Regions from separate parts of the Homo sapiens genome. Here regions 2 and 3 are each linked to region 1. Evidence: promoter capture Hi-C in 16 types of primary human blood cells and fetal thymus (Javierre and others, 2016). All regions are on one chromosome and are shown on one strand. Each heading gives the region's core, a stretch centred on a gene start or on the middle of the fragment in contact. The rest is flanking DNA. Distances are from core to core; before and after follow the strand shown.

Evidence for each region. The method cuts DNA at HindIII sites, captures the fragments that hold promoters and counts their contacts. A CHiCAGO score of 5 or more calls a contact.
Region 2: a fragment that was not itself captured here is called in contact with the fragment with the promoter of GJA3 in region 1 in 2 of 17 cell types (M2 macrophages and M0 macrophages); the score reaches 5.5 in M2 macrophages.
Region 3: a fragment that was not itself captured here is called in contact with the fragment with the promoter of GJA3 in region 1 in 2 of 17 cell types (M2 macrophages and M0 macrophages); the score reaches 7.1 in M2 macrophages.

Annotation. Positions count from the first base shown.
Region 1 is chr13:20,159,604-20,162,542 of GRCh38, forward strand. It overlaps GJA3 (gap junction protein alpha 3), which reads right to left and starts at 1,449. Exons shown (of 2, transcript NM_021954.4): 1 at 1,287-1,449. RefSeq lists silencers at 1,180-1,269, 1,430-1,509, 1,740-2,099. The HindIII fragment of the contact is 22,819 bases long and covers 1-2,939 here.
Region 2 is chr13:20,496,478-20,499,416 of GRCh38, forward strand. All of the region lies in intron 2 of CRYL1 (crystallin lambda 1), which reads right to left. Among named protein-coding and RNA genes, the nearest start is that of CRYL1, 28 kb to the right of the region's middle. The HindIII fragment of the contact is 5,408 bases long and covers 1-2,939 here.
Region 3 is chr13:20,480,410-20,483,348 of GRCh38, forward strand. The region is part of intron 3 of CRYL1 (crystallin lambda 1); the gene reads right to left. Among named protein-coding and RNA genes, the nearest start is that of CRYL1, 44 kb to the right of the region's middle. The HindIII fragment of the contact is 5,108 bases long and covers 1-2,939 here.

The DNA of each region.
Region 1 (2,939 bases), core at 199-2,698:
TATTTTCCTTATTGGCAAAAAATTTTGTTACCCGCCATTCTTTTAAGACAGCTTTCAGCCAGTTAACGGTTCCTGGTTAAGAAACAGTACTGTCTGATTTGTTAGAGTAGTACCGTTTCGTGAATTACTTTCCACTACAGCAACACATGCATTGCCCTTATGAGATGCTTATCTCGATATGAACCAAACTGCTGAGCAGGTGGAATCTGTGCCAAACTAGCTGATGTTTACTTTGAACACACTGATATTCGGAAAATAAATCCCTCTTTTTTCCTCTTTAATCTTTTAATGTTTGTCTTGCACATGGATGGACCGCCAGTGAAGTGATGCGCACATCATAAATCACCATGGTTTTTAATTCCTGGGTGATGAGACCCATAATTCGCTTGTCAGCTGTTTGTATAGAATCATTTTTAAATGGCATGTTTTGGAGACATCTTGATAAAATAAAAACTGGAGTTCTAAAGTTGCAGTCACATATTCACGAACCGAGAACTCTACATGGTAGGATGAATTTTGCTCACTAGTGTGGAGTCGGCAACAAAGCAAATGCAGCCGCGTCACTGCCGTTTGTTTTCTCAAGTCTCCTACGGGAAGGGGCTCGGACAGTGCTTTTCCACTCCTCTGCAAATTCCTTATAGTTGAACACATCATAACAAACATACAGGTCGAGAAATCTGGTCGTGGCATTAATAGCTACAGTGTTTCTTAAAAATAAAAAGTTTTAAAAAGTTTCTGAAAAAAATGTAGGCGAGCCAACCTTGTTTCTAAACAATCCCAACAGGACTTTTAGGAGCACGGCGATGCTGAATGCCCGTGGACGGCTGGGTGCGCGCCGTTAGCTGGCGCGGTGACATCTGCTTAGAGTTTTCAAGCATTTCAGCATCGCTAGGAGCCCTACAGCCTGACGGTCCGGGACAGCCCGGCTTCCTCCACCCGAGGGGGAAAACAACCCCAGGAAAACAACTTAAACTCGGCCTTGGACTGTCCATCAAGGGAAGCCAAACGAGGCGCTGCTCTCCAGACCTCCAGGAGCAAAGGAGGAAGATCAATTATTCCAAAAGTTTCTCACAAATTTCCCGAGCTCCCCACAACTTTTTGAAGAATCCTGAAAGAATCCTAGGGGGCTGGGAGCCGCACACGTGCCGGGGCTCGGCTTCCCAGCTCGGCAGTCTCAGCCCGCTGGGCTCGCCCGGCAGCTCCGCTGCGCCGCCGACCCGCCCGTCCCCGCCCCGCGCTGCCCTCGGCCCCTGTGCCTGGCCTCCGGGGCGCCCGGCCCGCCTTACCCCGCTCTGCCGCGGCGGCGACCCGGGTGCGTTCCTCCGGAGCAGGGCTCCCGGCCGCTCTGAAAAGAATTCCTTTCACACGTGCGGTGCTGCTTCACGCGTGCGCCCCGCGCCAGGGCCCGACCTCCCCGCCCTGATCGCCATCCCTGCAGCCCCAGTGTGCGCTGCGCCCGACGCCCCCAAGCTGCAGCTCAGGACGCCGCGCCACGCCCCCGCCGCCTCCGAACAGCCCCGCCCCGCGCGCTTCCCAGCACGCACACCTACCGCCCCCGCATCCCTACCCTGTACGCGCAGCCACAGCACTCGCCCGCGTCCGCATTCCACACCCTACCCCGCGCGCACGTCCATGCCTAGCGCCTGCATCCCCATCCCGCACCTGCGCGGGCCCTGGGGATGTGGACGCGGGGGCTCTTCCCTGCCGCCTACGCACTCCGGGGCATGCCCGCGCGGGACGTGAGAGGAGAGCCGAGGGCTGTTGGGGCGGGCCCGACCCGCTTGCGGGGCGCCCACCGCACGCAGATGCGCCAGCCCGCGCCCCGCTCGCGCCTGTCCTGGGCTTCGCAGGCCCGGCGAGGTAGCTGCTCTCCGGGCGCTCCCACGGTCGGAGGCGCGTGGGCGTCGGGCACCTAGGTCTCGCCCGCCTGCAGCCGCCTGGGGACGCGGGTTCCGGACGGCTGGCGCGGGGCGGGGCGGGGACCACCGAGCAGGAAGTCCCCGCGGAAGCGCCGCCGGGCACAGCGTGGGTGCTGTCGAGGAGTGGCGCCCGGGCGGGGCGGGAGGTTATAAATAGCGGCCGCCATCCTGCTTCTCTTCAGACACACTTAATTTAGCCGGCAGGCACACGGATGCTTATTTTTAAAAAAAGAACTTGTTTTATTGCGCTCGAGGTGACCGGGAAGGTGTCCCCGCGGGTCACTCGCTCCATCTGGTCCTGGAGACGAGATGCCAGGGCGAGGCCTAACCTGCCTGCTGGCGCCCAACGAAGATTTTAACGTTTTCTGTTCCCTTCGGGGTGGTTTTACCACGCTTGAGAGGGACGCCTACCGCGGAAGGCCGCGGACCGAGGGCGGCATCGCGTCCTTGTCTGCTGTCTGGGCACAGCCTAGAGAGGCCGCGGGTCCCCTCCCCGTCCCCCAAGGTCTGGAGTGGGGTTTGACCAGCCTGGGATATTAACAAATATCGGTGGACTGCATTTCGGTGATCATTCCACAAGCTGAAATGGCTTCAAAATCACCTTTATGAGTAATAAGTTTATTCCAGGAATGTGGCAAAATGCAAGTCTGATAGTTTTCGTGTCTTCATGGAGCAGCTTCCGTCGGCTGCCTTCGTTAGCGTTTAGATCTACTCGGATTAGCAGTTGGCTTGCCCTGAAAAATGCGTTTGTTCTGCTGAGATCTGAATTTAAAGTTATCCCAAGGAGGAAAAACTAAGCTCCTAAAGGCGCATCTAAAATATCTTCTCCCTTTGGGAACTTTGCGGTGTATGTATGGAGTAGGTAGTAGTTACGGAGACTTAGTTTTTAATTTTTAATTGAAAAATGCTACCTTTGAAGGTCTTAAAATACTTGAATATTTTTCTCATTTAAAACATTTTCTCTGAGAAGCACAGGAATAGTTTTTTTTTTTTTGTTGATCACAAAAGCACTAGGAATTG
Region 2 (2,939 bases), core at 132-2,631, 340 kb after region 1:
TAGTATATTCCCGTTAATTCATGCAATAATCTAGGTCCTGGACTTTGAATTACACACAGTAACATAAAGCACATCTATTTATCTCTGCTCCCTCCAGAAACCTTAGTAAAACCAGGCTAATAATGGATCTTTTTTTAAAAGCATAGACCTGTGCCTGGTGTGGTGGCTTACACCCATAATCCCAACACTTTGGGAGGCCGAGGCAGGCAGATCAGATCTCTTGTGCTCAGGAGTTTGAGACCAGCCTGGGCAACATGGCAAAAAGGCTGAGGTAGGAGGATCACTTGAGCCCCCGAGGTGGAGGCTGCAGTGAGCAGAGATCATGCCACTGCACTCCAGCCCGGGCACCAGAGCAAGACCCCGTCTCAAAAAAAAAAAAAAAAAGTGTAGGCCCACAAGGTCAGAGATTATTGGGAGACAAAATGGACAAAATATGCTAATTTTTTGGAAAATTGGAAATCATGCAAAAGTAGTCAGGTAAATGATTGAATGAGGTGGAGAAAGCTAAAACTTAGGCATGGGGTTAAGGAAAATGCCAACGAAAAGCAAGTCGCAATAGCTCCTGAGAGACGTGGAAAAGGTCAGAATCTGCAGGTACCAAAGAGGACACAGTGTGAATGAGGAGTGGGAGGTGACAAGAGTTTACTGAAAGCGGTGCCACTACTAAAGAAATCCAACCACAATAGGCCAGACACAAGAGGCCGTTGGGGGGTGCTACAGATACCAGGGGCTTCAGATAGAGGACACCCTGAGAGGCGAGAGCCATGCGTGCCCACACACCACATACACACAACTACACACACACCACCATACACACAACTACACACACCGCATATACACACTACACACACACCACCACACACACTACACACACACCACCATACACACAACTACACACACCGCATATACACACTACACACACACCACCACACACACAACTACACACACACCACCATACACACAACTACACACACCACATATACACACTACACACACACCACCACACACACAACTACACACAGCACACACCACATATACGCACTAGACACCACACACCACACACACACAACTACACACACCACATATAGGCACTACACACACCATATATATGCACCACACACACCACACACAACTACATACATACCACATACACACAACTACACCACCACATACACACACTACACACCACACTCCACATACACACAACTACACACACCACATATATGCCCTACACACACCACACAAACACACACCACATACATACAACTACACACACATCTCATATACACACTACACACACCACCATACACACAACTACACACACCACATATACATACTACACACACACCACCATACATACACCACATACACACAACTACACACACCATATATACACAGTACAATATAAGGATTTATACTCATATTGAATTTCCAAAACTAATGTTTTCATTTACCATTTTTTAATGATGGATTGAAAACTAGTTGTCTTACTTTGATAACTTTGGCATTGAACTTATCACATTTTTGATGCTTTTGGTCACAGTTCTGTCTCTAGAGCTACACACACAACTACACACACACCCTATACACACTACACACACACCACACATACACACAACACCATACACACTACACACACCCCATATACACAGTACATACACACCACACATACACCACCATACACACTACATACACCGCATATACACACTATACACACGCCACCATACACACTACACATACCCCATATACACACTACATACATGCCACCCTACACACTACACACACCCCATATACACACTACACACACACCACCATACACACTACACACACTCCATATACACACTACACACACATGCACATACCTCATACACACACTATACACACCACTTACACACACTACGCACACCACATACATACTATGCACACCAATACACACTACACACACCATATACACACTACACACACACTGCCTAATGGAAAGCCAGTGTCTAGGCCCGTGTGTCGGAATAACAGGGTTTTCTTGGAGCATTGATCTGCTCTTTAATATAAAATTATAAAAGGTTATAAAGTTTATGGAAATCTCACCTTATGGTCAAACTGATTAGATTTATTTATAATGTTTTATTAAAATTAGCATTAACATTAATAATATACCATACAAAGGTAAAATTTGGTTTTCTCTTTTGAACAAAATTTTCATGTAAGAGATAAGAGATTTTTATTTACCTTTTCAGTAAAACCACAGAAGAAAACAAATAGAGGGAAGGAGAAAGACAGATTTAGCTGGCCTCATGCTGTCTTTACTAGGTCTTAATGTTTAGGAAACTCAGTCTCCTATCAAAGAGAAAATGTTTTTGTATTATAATTTTGGCCAAATGAATGACTGTTTTATAGTGACTTCTGATCCTATTTTGTGATATCAAGTGTCTTAAAACCTTTGATATTTGACAGACTTCCCAACAGCAAAATATCAAGTTCTAAATTCTCTGACCTTAAACTAACTTTTTCAGCTATTAGGTTCCCTGAAGTCCAAGAGAGACATATTAGGCATATTAGGCTTATGTGTTATGTTAGAATTATTTAAGCCGGGCATGGTGGCTCTTGCCTGTAATTGCAACACTTTGGGAAGACAAGATGGGTAGATTGCTTGAGCCCAGGAGTAAAGAGACCAGCCTGGACAACATGGCAAAACCCCATCTCTACCCAAAAAATACAAAAATTAGCTGGGTGTGATGGCGCATGCCTGTAGTCTCAGCTACTCTGGAGGCTGAGGTTAGAGGATTGCTTGAGCCCAGGGGGCAGAGACTGTAGTGAGCCAAGATCGCATCAGTGCACTCCAGCCTGGGCAACAGAGTGAGACCCTGTCTCAAAAAAAAAAAAAAAAAATGTGGCCGGGCGCAGTGGCTCATGCCTTTAATCCCAGCACTTTGGGAGGTCGA
Region 3 (2,939 bases), core at 171-2,670, 320 kb after region 1:
TGGCAGGTGGTTGTGAAGGGGGAAAAGCCAAAATGCCCAAACTGAAAGGTAAAGTAGAAATTCAGGCTAACGCTGACCTTGAGCCAGGCTTCCTGGCAAAGATCAAAGCCTGTTGCCTTCTAACATTCTGCTCCAGCACACATAACTTCATACTCCACCCCACAAGGTAGAGGCCAAAGAGAACAAATCATGGTGGAGTACTTTCCTAATGCTCCTGCAGGTCCCACGATGTCTGAGACACAGGCAGGTCACTGCCTCGTCCATCACTGCAGGGCCTGCCAGCGCAAATCATGCCAATAACCTGCCGTTCGTGGATGCTGCGGGGACCCACAATGCTGGCCATGTTTAGTCCTCACCTGCAGGCACACTGAATGCAATGAGGATGCCCTCCTCTTCTAAGACTTTATTTTACTGTCCTTCTTATGTTTTGACTTAGCATTTTTTCAAGTCCTATTTGGTCACAGAAGAAGATAAATACATAATTACAGATTAAGAGAAAAACTTGCCTGTCTCTTGAATGTATAACATTTTTCATTACTTGCTCATATTATATCTTTGAAGCTATACATACTACAAAAAAAAAGCCAAGCAAATAAATAAAAATACAGCTTCACAGAAATAAGACCTCGTGCCCAGTTCTGTAAGCACACTATTTGAATAAAGCAAGAGCAAGCCATCAGAAAAGTAAGGGCTGTGGCAGGAAGCTAGTAGAACATTAGGACAGAATGTTTTCACACTTCGCAAGTGAAAACTGAAGGCTCGTGCTTCCAGATGATCTCGTGAGTGTGTGAGGTGGGCTTGCCCCAGTCCATCCAGAGTCCCACGCACCTTAGTAATGTCATACCACTCAGCAACAAATTACCAATCAACACAACCACACAAGCCACGTCAAATTCATTTTACTCTGTGAAAGAAACCAAACTCAAAAGGCTGCATCATGTATGATTCCATTTTACATAACATTCTGGAGAAGGCAAAACTATAGGGACAAAGAACAGATCAGTGGTGGGCAAGGCCTGGGGAACGGTGGGAGGAAATTAGCTGCAAAGGGAAGGAGAGGCTCTATGCTCTGAACCCCAGCTGTGACGCTGATTTCATACGTGACTGTACGCATCTGTCAGACACATAGCACTGAACCCTGAAACGAGTGAATTTTCTTGTATGGAAATTATATCTTTGTAAACCTGATTTTACAGTTTTTAAAGAAAAAAACACGTATGGCCATGCGTGGTGGCTCACTCCTGTAATTCCAGCACTTTGGGAGGCCGAAGCGGGCAGATCACCTGAGGTCAGGAGTTCAAGACCAGCCTGGCCAACATGATGAAACCCCGTCTCTACTAAAAATACAAAACTTAGCCCGGCATGGTGGTGGGCGCCTATAATCCCAGCTACTTGGGAGGCTGAGGTAGGAGAATTGCTTTAACCCGGGAAGCAGAGGTTGCAGTGAATCAAGATCGCACCACTGCACTCCAGCCTGGGTGACAAAGGTGCGACTCCATCTCGAAAGGAAAAAGAAAAAACACATACAACAGAAAAAGTGTAACTCCAGTTTCCTCGCACATTCCCGAATATTCTCAGGGCTGGCCATCCCATGTGTCCAATGCTGCCTGAACCCCCCACCCCCACACCCATCTCTACCAAAAGAAGAAATATTCTGAGTCTCAGTGAACCAAGACTGAAAGTCCAACAATCCTTTAAGAAAACAAATAAATTTCCAAAAGAACGCTACTTCCTGTAATTACTGACAGTGTCTGAAGGTCCTTTTCAAAATGATTAGCATTCTCTCCATTTTAAAGATATAGTTGAGATGCAAATTCTGATCATCTACATAGACAATATCCATTTAACTTCTCGATTTCAGCTATTGCAGATTGTTCTGACTTTGTGTAAGGAAACCCCATTTAAACTTCGTAACTCTATAAATCATTCCCATGGCTCCCACCAGCTACTGTGATCTCCGGTTTTAAGTTCCAGAGATTAGATAAGGCCTCGACATAGTGGCTAATGAGCTTTAATGTGCTTTAAAAGTCAAGGCTTGAGACCAGCTTTTCAGAGTAAACTTATTTTTCCAGAACAGTAGGTTTTCTTGCCAGGCAAGATTTGATTTCAAAATTGCACTAAGTTCTAGAAATTCAGGTTTCTTTCTTGCGTGCTCCCGGATTTCAGCAGAGTATTAGGAAACGTCCTGACCCAGGCTCCCCGCCCTCTAGGGTTGGGTAGAAAACAATCCACTGGGGAAAACCACACTCCCATTACTGGGCTTCGCCCCCTGGGGCTGGGCAGATCCGACAGTGGGATTATTTTTAGTTGAAGCATTGTGGCAAGCAGTCTGTGTGTGTGTGTGTGTGCGCGCGTGTGTGTGCGCACGCACACACGCGTCTCCTCAAACTCTGCCTCCTGCTTGTGAACAATTCCCTAAATAGTAATAATTTTCTTTTTATAAGAAAACCACAGCAACATATTTTATAAGAAAACTGTAGCAACATAGATGGCATTGGAGATCATTATATTAAGCGAAGTAAGCCAGGCACAGAAAGGCGAAGATCCCATGTTCTCACTCATGTAGGGGAGCTAAAGCAGTGGGTCTCATGGAGGTAGAGAGTAGAATGGTGGACACCCGCAGCCGGCAGTTACCAGGAAGGGGAAGGAGCGATGAAGAGAAGCTGGTTAATGAGTACAAAATACAGTTCGCTAGAAGGAGCAAGGTCTAGCATTCAATAATACAGTAGGGAAATTAGAGTTAATAATGTTATATATTTCAAAATAGAAGATTTATAGTGTTCCCAACACAATAAAAGATAAACGTGTGAGGTTCTGGATATCCTAATACACCGGGATTTTACCATGACACACTGAACACACAAATCAATCACACATGAATCCCAAATATGTACAATTAAGATACAGCAAGTAATTTTTTATTTATTATTATTTTTTTA